Regions from separate parts of the Homo sapiens genome. Here regions 1, 2, 3 and 5 are each linked to region 4. Evidence: promoter capture Hi-C in 16 types of primary human blood cells and fetal thymus (Javierre and others, 2016). All regions are on one chromosome and are shown on one strand. Each heading gives the region's core, a stretch centred on a gene start or on the middle of the fragment in contact. The rest is flanking DNA. Distances are from core to core; before and after follow the strand shown.

Region 1 (2,700 bases), core at 37-2,536, 1.1 Mb after region 4:
TGTGTCCGCTTAGGCGTGTTTAATGTGTGTGTTTGTGTCTGTGTGTGCATGAGTCTCCATGTGCGTGTGTGTTTGTGATTTAATTTCTGATTGGGGGGTCCCTTGTGAGTGTATGTATTGTGTCTGTGTCTGTGGTCTGTGGGTGCCTGCCTCTGTGAGTGAGAGTGGGCAAATGGGCATGTGGCGGAGACACCCTGCAAAAACTGAAATCCGGATCAATGTGTTCACATGGCTGGACTGAAAAAAAAGGAGACACGGGACAACTTGCCAAACTTCCTAATGGCTCAGGATTACACACCTAGTGCATCCACGAACAGAACAGGAAATAACAGCAAGCCATGAGGAACTGGGTAAAGGATCTGTTCACCATGACATTTCACTTAAAAGCAACATGTGGGAAGGTTTTTGGTATACCAGAGAGACTAAACTGGTGACCTTCATCAGTGCTAAATTAAGAACAAAAGTGAAGCTTTCTCTAGGCCTAGTACTGCAGAGAGACATGCTGAATCACCAAGGAGCAAAAGAAGAAGCAGTCTCCTAGAACACTTGTCTGTCCTGATCTGAAAGTGAAGGGAAAAAGAGAAGCAGAGGCAAAAGCAAAAGACAAAAAAGAAGAAGAGGCAAAAGAAGAGGAGAAGGAAAGAAGAAGGAGGAGGAGGAGGAGAAGATGGAGGAGGAAGAGTAAGAAAACAAAAAAGAGAAGAGGAATTAAAAGAGTAGGAGGAGGAAGAGGAAGAATAACCAGAAAGAGAACAAGAACAGAAAGTGGGAGGTCCATGCCACTGTAGCTGTCCTGAAGGATCTAGTTAAGGAAGACCTCAGTGTGTGGTGACATACACAATGAGTGACAAGGAGCCCCAGGTCACCTCCCGTTTAAAGGACATACAAACGAGAAGCTTCTTGTCGATGGGATCTTTCCTGAGTGGGATCAAAACTTTGATCCACAAATTGGCCTGCAGAACTACAGAGTACACAAGTGTAGGCTGAACCTTACCCTGAGGATGTCATCAGCTGACTGCAAGGGGCCACCAAGCCCAAAGTCTACAAAACCAAGGCAGTGAAGAACCACCCAAAAGAAAAAGATGAAAAACGGGGAGGAATCGGACACCAGGGAAAAGAGGTAATCAGCCACCCATGGCAATATGGAGACACGGCAGAAAGAATAAGGAAATGCCAACTTCTCCTCGCAGGGTTCAGCTGGAGTCCTTCTAATTTCCTTAGAAACAGTAAGCCTGTTTTCCTTAACCATGTCCCCGTGCATAACTGACCCTGCCTTCTTGGCTGATTGTGACCTCCATAAACAGAAGCGGACGAAAAGTAAAGACAGTGAAGAAGAAAAAAGTGAAGGGAGGAAAACTCCAAAAGTACACAAAGAATCAGAGTGAGCAATGAGTTACAGAGTAAACTGGAAAGCAGAGTTCATCATATGGAAAGCTGACAGCCCTGTGAGTAGCCTCCTGTGTCCTCACACAGGATAAGGCGCCAGCCAGAAGAAAGCATAAGCCCCTAAATCCCGGGTCTGTACCGCGTCTGCACAAAGATCTGTTGGGCCAGGAGACTGCCCTGTTCCCTGCTGCCCACACCTCAACCCCATCCCGCACACTCCATCAGCAAATATTGGGAAGGCAGAGAGAAAGCAATAAGAAAAATGAACAGGAGGGAACGTGAAAGCTTAACAACTACCTCCTGAGGGTTGCTTAGATGACGGGAAACAGTTGTGAATGAAGGTGTCTAGGCAGAAGCTTGTCATTACTGGAGAAGATACTTGTATGTGCCTGAGGACCTATGCAACCACAGATGAAGACAGGATATAGTTCAGACGTGATTGATGTTCAAAGGTAAAAACAAGAACCTCTGACACTAAAACTAACAACACCAAAGTTCCTGCGTTCCTTACTTCACCCGATGTCCCAAGGCACAAAAGGAGGGGCCCCGAGGTGGATGGTATACACTTATGAGAAAAGGACACACATTTGTTGACAAGGAAACAGTTGAGATGTGATGGGAGTTAAAAGTTAAAACCGAGGACCTCTGACACTCACAGTCCCAGTGCCAACCCTAAAGACGCAGTCCAGATCTTCCTGCATTCTTTTCTTCTCGCGTTCTCCCTAGGCACCGCCAGAGGCGCACCCTGGTGCATGCTACCTACATATGAGGAAAAAAAAAAAAAAAAAAAAAAAAAATCCGCATTTGTTGACAAGTGACAGAAAGGGGGTGACTCCTGTTCCATGGTCATGTGGTTCTTCTGCCCGGAATGCCGTGAGAGTGCAGGCCCGCTCACGAGATTGACATTCCTCCTTGTGAGAGTGGTTCACACACCCCCAGCGTGGGAATCATCACCCGTGGGGTGAATTTTCTGCCCTAAGAAGGGCTGCTCGTCCCCAGGGTGGCCTACACATCCAGGAAGATTTGTAACAAGCCAAGACAGAAAACATTTGCAATATTCGGGGAGCGTTGTGTTCCATGCTGCTGTCCAGGCACCCAGCGGCATGAGTAGCCTATGCAACCTTTAGAGCAAGGCGGTCGCGGCTTCGCATCCCAACATGGGCACTGTATGATGTCCCGCATCAGGCTTTCTTATGTCTGCCTGGAGACCCTAATTATGGGCGGCATAATTTGTCCTTGACGGTCTCATGCATTTTCTGGGCTGAATATCCGGCAAGCACCAGGGTTTAGCTCGAGAGCCCAGTGAGCCCTCTA
Region 2 (2,700 bases), core at 48-2,547, 1.3 Mb after region 4:
TTGTTGAACACTGTCAATTCAAATTATTAACCCATCTACTGTCCTGTCATTATCATCTTGTTACTCCATTTTAATCTCAAGGATATTATGAGAAACTGCCAAACGGCTTGATGAGGTACATAATGTTTGCCTTTTGAGATCTCTGGAAGGCGGTTCAGCAAAAAGGTAGGCATCCTCCAGAGCACCTGAAGTACAAGTGGCCCATGTGATTGCTTTTTTGGAGACATACTGTTATGTATTAGGCCACTATAAACGGATGTATTTAAGGGCAGTTTCAAATATTAGCCACATCTTGAAAGTAAGAAAGGCAAAGCTCTTAAGTTGCAGTTACTGATTTATGACAGAGCTGACTCTCACATGTGCATTTTTGTGTAGACTGCTCCAATGTGAACAGTAGCAGAGATGTATTTATTTAACAAGAGCCAATGTTCTCCCGAACAACACCCAGGAGGCCAGCTAGTATACAACTTATAGTAAAATCTCTGATTAACAGACCAGTATAGTTTAATAGACTTAAGGGGAGGCAGTATAATGTACTGCTTAAGAGCATAGTCTAGAATCTCAGAACTGGGTTCAAACCTTGACTCTGTCACTTAATAGTAAGTAGTGTGACCTTGCTCAAGTTACTTAGTCTCATTCAGCTTATTTCCTTATCTGTAAGCTGGGGAAGCTTGTAATTGTGCTACCTTACAGAGCTACTACGAGATTGAACATAGCAATGAGTATGTTAGCTATTATTGTTATTCTAACCTAACAAAATTCAGTTTGGCAATCTTGTGAAATACATGCTAGGGCCGAGTAATCATCTTTCTTCTTTCTTTCAAGCTCATCAACCATGCTTTTAATAATGAATTACAGAATCTTTCTTGAAATTATCTTAAGTTTGCTAATCTACACAGTTCTAAATATGGATTCCAAAAGTGCTGTTTTAGGGAGCTCAAATCTGTGCTCAGATACCTCAATACAGCTGGAGCTATATGCCTCGATTCATACCCACTGGACAAATAAATGTTGTCCTTGTATGCTGGGACAAACAACTCCTTTTTAAAATGACATTACCCAAACTTTTGAACTTGTTGGTTTACAGCAGCTTTTGCCAAGGGTTTTTACCCATGGTCAAAGTGTGTAAAGCCTATGCAAGCATGTGCACCACCTGATGACGCCTGCTCTTTGAGGTGGCTTCAGTCTGATATCTGCTGAATCATGCTTCTCCTTTCTATTTACAGAAAACTGCTTTTCCCCTAAGTCTTCTAACAGAATTCTGGGAAAATGGTGGCATGAGAATAGGTCCTTAATTCTATGAGGCATTGTCTCATTCTGTCACCCAGGCTGGAGTGCAATGGTGTGATCTCAGCTCACTGCAATCTCTGCCTCATGGGTGCAAGTGATTCTCGTGCCTCAGCCTTCTGAGTAGCTGGAATTACAGGCGTGCAACACCACGCCTGGTTAATTTTTTTTGTATTTTTAGTAGAGATGGGGTTTCACCACATTGGCCAAGCTGGTCTCAAACTCCTGACCTCACGTGATCTGCCCACCTTGGCCTCCCAAAGTACTGAGATTACAGGCATGAGCGAGCCCCTGTGCCTGGCCTCAGTATATTTTTTTAATAATACTCAATTAGGAATATCAAATTTGCCAAATAATTTAATTTCTTTACATATACTAAATTAAGCTGTATGACAAACATTTACATCAGGTCAGTCTGGCTTTGTGGCTAGAGTTATCAGTTCATTTAGGATAGTGTCAAAAGTCTGAATTTGAATCCCTTTTTGAATTATAAGACACAGGCCAAATGGCTTTCCTGACATCTCAACCCTGATCACTAGGCTTGGCCCTAACAGGAATTAGTCAATTTGGTCCTATTTTGACACTGCAGATTAACATAATTTGGAGCAGGCTGTCCTCTCTCAGAGGGCAAGCTTGTCCACACCCAAATACAGGTGTCTCCTGATCCTAGTTTCTCAACTAGCATGGAGATCTCAACTTGATGCAAAAGTCCCCTTTAATGAACCAACAGGTTTTGTTTCCAAGTTGTGTATATGCCCCCTGCCCCTCCCCTCCCACACGAGTAGAGAAAGTATGTATGATATCACGTACCTGAAACAGAGGACAAAAGCAAATGAGGAAAGCTGTCTTGAGGGTGAAGTCATCCTGCTGGGTTTGCCCCTGGCATTAGCTCCCTCCCTACTACCACATCTTGCTGGATCGCAGAGCCATTGGGAGGGGGTGACAACCCAGTAAACAGGGAATGGATACAAAAACACTGTTCCACTCTTGTTGGATGGGGTGACAACCCAGTAAACAGTGAATGGATACAAAATAATTGTTCCACTCTTGTTGGAGGGGGAGGGATAGCAGGTCAGGATATACCCTTCTTGATTCAATGATGAATAAATGGATAAATCTTGGATCAATAGTAGATGAAGAAAACCCAAAACAAAAACAGAGCCTTTAAAAAGAACCTGCAACATAATAGGAGGAAATTACATCATGTAAGAGATGGAGGAAGAACAGTTAAAAGTAATTTTTAAAAGGCCAAAATAAATGAAGTTATAAGCAAAATAATAGTAGACTTAATAAAGTAAAGACGTGGATCTTTTCCAAGAGAAAACAAAATACACTTAAAAATAAACATTTGGCAAAGCTAATAAAATAATTTCCTGTTCCTTGAGTGTTTGAAAGAAACTGATCTGCTAAACT
Region 3 (2,700 bases), core at 25-2,524, 1.1 Mb after region 4:
GGTTATGAGTGCTGAAGAATTCCATTTTGCCATCTTGCTGCATAGGAATTTAATAAGTTGGGAGAGGCTGGCCAGGCATGGTGGTTCACGCCTGTAATCCCGGCACTTTCGGAGGCCAAGGGGCGGGCGGATCACCTGAGGTCAGGAGTTCGAGACCAGCCTCAACATGGAGAAACCCTGTCTCTACCAAAAATACAAAATTAGCTGGGTGTGGTGGTGCATGCCTGTAATCCCAGCTACTCGGGAGGCTGAGGCAGGAGAATTCCTTGAACCTGGGAGGTGGAGGTTACAGTGAGCCAAGATTGCACTATTGCACTCCAGCCTGGGCAACAAGAGTGAAACTCCGTCTCAAAAAAATAAAATAAAAGTTGGGAGAGGCTGCCTTGGGAGGTGCTAGCCAGACATCTATTGTTTTAAACAACTTGAGATATGCACATATAATACAATCCGTGATTTAAAGTGTACAATTCAATGGTTTTGGATATTTATAGATAAGCATAGATATGTGTAAATATCACTACAGTCAATTCTTATGCATTTTCATTAACCCTGAATAAAATCACACAGTCCTTAGACATCAATTCTCAATCATAACTTAAGGGAAACTCCATCCTTAAGCAAATATTTTTTCTGAACCTATAGACTTGCCTCATGTGGACATTTTATTTATATGAAATTATATAATATATGGTACTGTGTGACTGGCTTTTTTCACATAGCATAATGCTTTTGCTTTTCCCAGACCACCAGGCAAGAATTATTTTCCTTTTTTTTTTTTTTGGCATAATGCTTTCAAGGTTTATTCTGGCAGTATGTATACTTATTTCCTGTATATGACTAAATTAATATTCCATTGTGTGAATATACATTTTGTTTTCCATTCACCAGTTGATGGGCATTTGAGTTGTTTCCACATTTTCCTAGTACAAATATTTCTGCTGTAAACCGTCCTGTACAATTTTTGTTTGAACACCTGTTTTTTAGTTATTTTGGCTATGTATCAGGAGTAAAATTGCTGGGTAGCATGTTATTTCTTTTTTTTTTCTTTTTTTTGAGATGGAGTCTTGCTCTGTCATGCCCAGGCTGGAGTGCAGTGGTGGGATCTCGGCTCACTGCAACCTCTGCCTCCCAGGTTCAAGGGATTCTCCTGCGTCAGCCTCCTGAGTAGCTGGGCTAATTTTTTATATTTTTTAGTAGAGATGGGGTTTCACCATGTTGGTCAGGCTAGTCTCGAATTCCTGACCTCAGGTGATCCATCCACCTCAGCCTCCCAAAGTGCTGGGATTACAGGTGTGAGCCACCACGCCCAGCCATTATTTTTAACTTAGAGAGGAACCACAAAATTGTTTGCCCAGTGGCTGCACATTTATCATTACCAGCAACAATGCCGCATGTTCCTGTTTTCCCACATTCTAACATTTATTATTTTGCTATTTAAAATAATAATAATAATAAGTATCCTACTGGGTATAAATTGCTGTCTCTTTGTGATTTTGATTTGCATTTCCCTGATGACTAATAGTGTTGAGCATCTTCTCATGTGTAATTTGTGATTTGTATGTCTTCTTTACAGAAGAATCTATTCAGATCCTTTCGTTATAAAATTGGTTTATTGTTTGTTTTATTATTTAGCGGTAATTACTGTTTATTTTATTTTATTATTTTGTTTTATTTTTTGAGATGGCGTCTTGCCCTGTTGCTTAGGCTGGAGTGTGCATTGGTGCAATTTTGGCTCACTGCAACCTCTGCCTCCCAGGTTCAAGCTATCCTCCCACCTCAGCCTCCTGAGTAGCTAAGATTACAGGCATACACCACCACACCCTGCTAATTTTTTTTGTGTGTGTATTTTTAGTAAAGATGGGGTTTCATCATGTTGGCCAGGCTGGTGTCAAACTCCTGACCTCAAGTGATCCCCCTGCCTCAGCCTCCCAAAGTGCTGGGATTACAGGATGAGCCACCATGCCTGGTCTTATATATTTTAGATACAAGTCATTTATGAGACATATTATTTGCAAAAATAATCTTGCACTGTGGCTGTCTTTCAAATTTCTTGACTGTGTTCACTGAAGCAAATTTTTTTTCAATTTTAATTATGTCCAGTTTATCTTTTTTTTCCTTTATTAACTTGTGCTTTGGTGTAAGAATTAAAAATCTAATACTTAATTCAAGGTCACAAAAATTTATTCTATATTTCCTCCCAAGAGTTTTATAGTGTAACCCTTATATTTGAGTCTTTGGCCTATTTTGAGTTAATTTTTGTATTTTGCATGAGGTAGGGGTGGAAGTTTTTTGTTTTTTTGTTTTTTTTTTGCATGTAGATACCAAGTTGTCCCAGTACCATTTATTGAAAATAGTTATTTCCCCTTTTGTCTTGCCTCCTTCTCAGAAGTTAATTGGCTGCAAATTAACTTTTGTGAGGGCTTATGTCTGGACTTTGGATTCTATTTCATTGATCAATATTTATATCCTATGCCAGTACCACATAGACTTGTTTATTGTAGCTTTGTAATAAGTTTTAAAATTTGGAAATGTGACTCTTCAAACTTTGTATACTTCAAGATTGTTTTGGCTATTCTGGGTCCATTACATTTTCATATGAACTTTAGAATCAGGTTATAAATTTCTTCAAAGTAGGCAACCTTAATTTTGATAAGGGTTGCATTGAATAGTTTGATTATTTTGAAGAGTGTTGTCATCTTT
Region 4 (2,700 bases), core at 98-2,597:
AAGTGCTTCCTCCAGAAAAAGTAATAGAAAGAAAAGTATGTGGAGTAGAAATTTTGATGAGGTTCGAATAGTTATGGTTGAAAAACTTGATTTTCAAGAGACCAAGTGTCCACTGTTATTAAAAGAGGGCGAGAGAGCTGGGAGTATTTAAACAACAGGTTACACCCCCCCACCCCCACCACCACCAATCTGTTCATCACTCTAAGCCTTCTCATCTCAGATATTTCACCCTATATTTGTGTCAATTCCAAACTCATTCGTGACAGACAAATTGGAGGATTGTCGTCATCATTAATAAGGACATTAGGCACCAAAGGCCCAGCAAGACTGGGCCACCACACTTAAATGTGAGCAGGTACACCGGGGCGAGTGGACAAGATCGTCTGTGCACATTACTTGGCAGAGTCCATTGAGTGACTGAGGGTTTAACCTTAACACATTTAACTGGAACTCCTGCCCAGAGAATGTGCTGGAGAATGCAGAATAAACTGAGCAATGCCCTCATTGTGCTATGAGAGTGGACATGAAGTTTATCATGGTACAACCGATCGTCGAAGGGCAAAGAGTTGGTTTAGGTTGTGCACTGTATAGGGAGAAGCCAGGGGCGGGTTGGGTTTTTTTCCAGATTTCAGTATAAATTGTTTCATCCTCCAGACTTTGCATTTGTAGGCTGAAGAGTGCTAATCTGTTTTGGCCGCATCTCTCACTCATTCTAATCTCTGTTATCAGCAGACAAAAATTGAACTATGTGGCAAATTGTACCGAGCACTTTGCTCAAGACAATTGTGAGTATGGAAGTTGTCCCGCGCAGAGGTGGGAAGGGGAAGGGCAATTTCCGCAGAAATGCCAGCACTATGGTGGTTTAATGCTGACACAGAGACAGTTTTTTCTCTCAGGAATTGTCTTTCATCCATCAATCCAGCCAGGTAGCCAGCCAATAAACAAATTTTAACACACAAAAAGTATGAAGCAACATGTCTAACACTGGGAGGGGCTGGCGTGTGTTTATTTGGGTATATACAATGAGTCACGGATTAAAATTGCTTTTACCAGATAGATACCTAGGTGTTCCACAGCATTATTGAACAAGATGTCGTCATTTCCCCATTACTTCAGAAGACCTCCTTAATTACTTATATTAATTGTAGAATATATTTATGCATACCAGGCTCTACCTCTGGGCTTTCTATTCCGTTCCAGAGACCCAGTACCAGAATATTTAAATCACTGTGGCGTTGAATACATTTTAATATCTGATAGGGCCAGTTTCTGCGCATTGCACATTTTTTTTTCCCCTTTCAGGAACGTGTTCAGGCCCGCGGCAGGGGGCGGGATCGCGCCTCCTCCTCGGCTCTGGTTCCAGCCGAGCCTCTCGGACGCAGAGATGGAAATCCCGAAGCTGCTCCCGGCTCGCGGGACACTACAGGGCGGCGGCGGCGGCGGTATCCCCGCGGGTGGCGGCCGAGTCCACCGAGGCCCTGACTCGCCGGCTGGCCAGGTCCCCACGCGCCGCCTCCTGCTGCCCCGGGGCCCCCAAGATGGCGGGCCCGGGCGGCGGCGCGAGGAGGCCAGCACGGCATCACGGGGCCCTGGCCCAAGCCTGTTCGCGCCGAGGCCCCATCAACCTAGCGGCGGCGGCGACGACTTCTTCCTGGTGCTGCTTGACCCGGTGGGTGGCGACGTGGAGACCGCGGGCTCCGGTCAGGCCGCAGGGCCTGTGTTGAGGGAGGAGGCCAAGGCGGGCCCGGGGCTCCAGGGGGACGAGAGCGGCGCGAACCCCGCGGGCTGCTCTGCGCAGGGCCCCCACTGCCTGTCCGCGGTTCCCACTCCGGCCCCGATCTCCGCCCCCGGCCCCGCCGCGGCCTTCGCGGGCACAGTCACTATCCACAACCAGGACCTGCTGTTGCGCTTTGAGAACGGCGTCCTCACCCTGGCCACGCCCCCACCACACGCCTGGGAGCCAGGGGCCGCTCCTGCCCAGCAGCCCAGGTGTCTGATCGCCCCCCAAGCTGGGTTCCCGCAAGCCGCGCACCCGGGTGACTGCCCAGAGCTGCGGTCCGACCTCCTGCTAGCCGAGCCCGCAGAACCCGCGCCTGCTCCGGCGCCCCAGGAGGAGGCGGAGGGCCTGGCCGCCGCCCTGGGCCCCCGCGGACTGCTGGGCTCTGGTCCAGGCGTGGTGCTGTACCTGTGCCCCGAGGCGCTGTGCGGGCAAACCTTCGCCAAGAAGCACCAGCTGAAGATGCACCTGCTGACGCACAGCAGCAGCCAGGGCCAGAGGCCCTTCAAATGCCCCCTGGGTGGCTGCGGCTGGACCTTCACCACCTCTTACAAGCTCAAGAGGCACCTGCAGTCGCACGATAAACTGCGGCCCTTCGGCTGCCCTGCGGAGGGCTGTGGCAAGAGCTTCACCACCGTGTACAACCTCAAGGCGCACATGAAGGGCCATGAGCAGGAGAACTCGTTCAAATGTGAGGTGTGCGAGGAGAGCTTCCCCACGCAGGCCAAACTCGGCGCCCACCAGCGCAGCCACTTCGAACCCGAGAGGCCTTACCAGTGCGCGTTTTCTGGCTGCAAGAAGACATTTATCACAGTGAGTGCTCTGTTTTCCCATAACCGCGCCCATTTCAGGGAACAGGAACTGTTTTCCTGCTCTTTCCCTGGCTGCAGCAAGCAATATGACAAGGCTTGTAGGCTGAAAAT
Region 5 (2,700 bases), core at 161-2,660, 1.7 Mb after region 4:
CACACACACACACACACACACACACACACACAAACATACTCATTGCTTGATATACACTAAATATCCCTGGAGAGATTCCTAATAAATAGATAACATTAGTTGCCTCCAGCGAGGCAAAATGGGTGGCTAGAGAACAGGAATAGGAGGGAGACTTTTTTCACCATGCACCCTTTAGTAAATACTGAATTTTGAGCCAGGCGGAATGCATTACCAATTGAAAATGCATGTTTTAGTTGAAAGTTTTTAAATTTTAGGGAAAACAAAACACGTGTGAGCTTTAGTTGGTCTGTAGGCTAATTGTTTGCACGTCTCGCCTAAATTAAGGTGGTGGCAGTTAGAATAATAATAAAGAAACAGATACCAGATACAAAGGGGAAAAAATACAACAGCCATTGGCATCTAATTAAATGAGAAAATGAGGAAGAGGGGAAAGGGACATGAGTACCACAACAGCTACATTTTCCCACTGCTTCACTTTCATGCCGCCTTCTAAGTGTTTACAAAATTAACACACTTATTCCTCACAGCAACCTTATGAGGTAGTGTCTATTATTATCCCCAATGCACAGATATGACAACTAAAGTACAGAGTTTAAATAAGTTCACCATTACTATGGTCATAGTAAGTTGCAGAACCAGGGAAGTGAAAGGAAGAGTCTTGAATGAGGAATGAGTGAAGAGTCCAGAGGTGATGATGGGCTGTATATTAGAAATGGTGAGTGTGAGGTTACAACAAAATGTCAAATTGCTAGTGATTTGAAATATCTGGATTGGGCTCTTGAGTTAGGTTATTGCTCCTTAATAATCCTAGAGCTTAGTTTGCCCACATCACATCTATTTTGTCTAAATACACAAATAACATCTTTTAGTATATTATACAGAACATCTAGCACCTTTCATATATTTAAATCCAGCTTCCTGTCCACTAATCTACATTCCACTTCTGCAAACACACAGCAGCATTTAAATAAAACAAATTTTTTTAAATAACAAAAATGATGAGACCGCAACTTATGAAACATATTAGATATCAGGCACTGAGTTCAATGCTTTCCTTACATTATTTATAATCACAAATTATCATGTCATTTTAGAGATGAGGAAACAGGCTAAATGATGAAACTCAGTTGAGGATAGTAAACATTAGCATATAAAAATCAGGAAGAGGTTGGGCACGTGGCTCATGCCTGTAATCCCAGCACTTTGGGAGGCTGAGGTGGATGGATCACCTGAGGTTGGGAGTTCGAGACCAGCCTGACCAACATGGAGAAACCCCGTCTCCACTAAAAATACAAAATTAGCCAGGTATGGTGGTGCATGCCTGTAATCCCAGCTACTCAGGAGGCTGAGGCAGGAGAATCACTTGAACCTGGGAGGCGAAGGTTGCGGCAAGCCGAGATCACGCCATTGCACTCCAGCCTGGGCAACAAGGGCGAAACACCGTGTCAAAAAAAAAAAAAAAAATCAGGAAGAATACCAAACATGATCTCACACTGTCTTTGAATAAACAAATGAGCCCAATACTACAATGTTATTCCCTTATTCATACTCTACTTAACAATAAGATGGTAATCATACTAGATGATCATCTATGTCAATCATCCTAATTAAGTTTTCCTTCATTCACAAAATCATGGCATTGTAAAGCTAGATCTTAGAAGATCATATACTGCCCCCACCGCACCAGGCACAGACAATCTGGCAAGATCAAAAATGACTAGGCTCTGTTTGCTACTTTGGTTATTGGAATTCACTTAGCCAATGAGAACCCCACCTCAGAAATGCATGTATTAGAACAATGAGAGTGGTGATGGTAGTCTGCTACATGGTTATTTTTTTCCCAATTTCCAATGTGCCCTGAAAAGTCTAAACAAGAGGGATGTATAGCTCCTGAGGGCTCTGAAGGTACAGCCATTAAGTAAGTTGGTCTTGAGGGTGGACTACATAGATGCACCTGTCATTTTTACTTTTGAGGTTATTATTTCTACTCTTCCTATGTTTTCTGCCTGTCTGCCCTCCAGGCTTACCTGAAGACATTGCTCCCCACCCATTCTCTGTGTCCCCAGCAGTCACCAAAGGTCAACAACTCTCAAGGGCTTCCCCATAACTCTGAAGAATGGGATGAGGTCATTTACCTATCACTTGTTTCTGTTGTCCAAAAGTCCTGTTGGTTATATCATTCTGGTTAAGTTGCCCAAAGAATGAGAGAAAAGGCAGGCTAGTAGCCCTTTCTTTCAGAAGTGATGAAGTCTGGTGGAAACAATGTTAAATCAGAAGCAAATAAAACCTGTGTTCTAGCCTCAGCCTTTGGACAAACTAATTCAGTCTTCCTAAGTTTCGTTTTACCACATCTGGAAGGTGTTTTAAGGACAGAAAAACACTAATTTTATCAGCAGTGGTCCAGAAAAATAGTTCCAAACTGAGTAGAAAAGGGAAGTTGAACTAAGATACAAGTGGCAGCCTCTGCCACATACACAAGATATTTCATCCACCCGAGTATCTACTGAGATAGAATTATTAATCTGCATTCTATGGAAGAGAAAAGCAAGGCCCAGGGTGATGCAGCTAATAAGTGGTGATACTAGGGTTTCAAAGCAGATTACCCCAAACCATGGCAATCTCCATCAGTTTCAAATCCAAATTTAAAGATTATTCTTTTTGCTCAATTATTACCACACTGGGTGACAGGTGCTTAATAAA

What was found. Contacts are between HindIII fragments. The CHiCAGO score rates a contact against its expected background, and 5 or more counts as called.
Region 1: a contact is called between a fragment that was not itself captured here and the fragment with the promoter of ZXDA in region 4, in 11 of 17 cell types (monocytes, naive CD4 T cells, M2 macrophages and 8 more). The highest score is 16.2, in monocytes.
Region 2: a fragment that was not itself captured here is called in contact with the fragment with the promoter of ZXDA in region 4 in 4 of 17 cell types (monocytes, M1 macrophages, non-activated CD4 T cells and 1 more); the score reaches 8.4 in monocytes.
Region 3: a fragment that was not itself captured here is called in contact with the fragment with the promoter of ZXDA in region 4 in 10 of 17 cell types (monocytes, non-activated CD4 T cells, naive CD4 T cells and 7 more); the score reaches 12.1 in monocytes.
Region 5: a fragment that was not itself captured here is called in contact with the fragment with the promoter of ZXDA in region 4 in 1 of 17 cell types (M0 macrophages); the score reaches 6.9 in M0 macrophages.

Annotation. Positions count from the first base shown.
Region 1 is chrX:56,780,266-56,782,965 of GRCh38, reverse strand. All of the region lies in intron 2 of NBDY (negative regulator of P-body association), which reads right to left. Among named protein-coding and RNA genes, the nearest start is that of NBDY, 52 kb to the right of the region's middle. RefSeq lists an enhancer at 257-396. The HindIII fragment of the contact is 775 bases long and covers 899-1,673 here.
Region 2 is chrX:56,568,399-56,571,098 of GRCh38, reverse strand. No RefSeq gene overlaps it. Among named protein-coding and RNA genes, the nearest start is that of UBQLN2, 6.1 kb to the right of the region's middle. The HindIII fragment of the contact is 1,249 bases long and covers 673-1,921 here.
Region 3 is chrX:56,818,596-56,821,295 of GRCh38, reverse strand. NBDY (negative regulator of P-body association) reads right to left here. Exons shown (of 3, transcript NM_001348129.2): 3 at 2,117-2,700. Among named protein-coding and RNA genes, the nearest start is that of NBDY, 91 kb to the right of the region's middle. RefSeq lists a silencer at 846-1,140. The HindIII fragment of the contact is 3,504 bases long and covers 1-2,700 here.
Region 4 is chrX:57,909,105-57,911,804 of GRCh38, reverse strand. ZXDA (zinc finger X-linked duplicated A) reads left to right here and starts at 1,347. Exons shown (of 1, transcript NM_007156.5): 1 at 1,347-2,700. The coding sequence starts at 1,385. RefSeq lists a silencer at 1,920-2,179. The HindIII fragment of the contact is 7,022 bases long and covers 1-2,700 here.
Region 5 is chrX:56,234,181-56,236,880 of GRCh38, reverse strand. All of the region lies in intron 1 of KLF8 (KLF transcription factor 8), which reads right to left. Among named protein-coding and RNA genes, the nearest start is that of KLF8, 3.2 kb to the right of the region's middle. The HindIII fragment of the contact is 3,409 bases long and covers 1-2,700 here.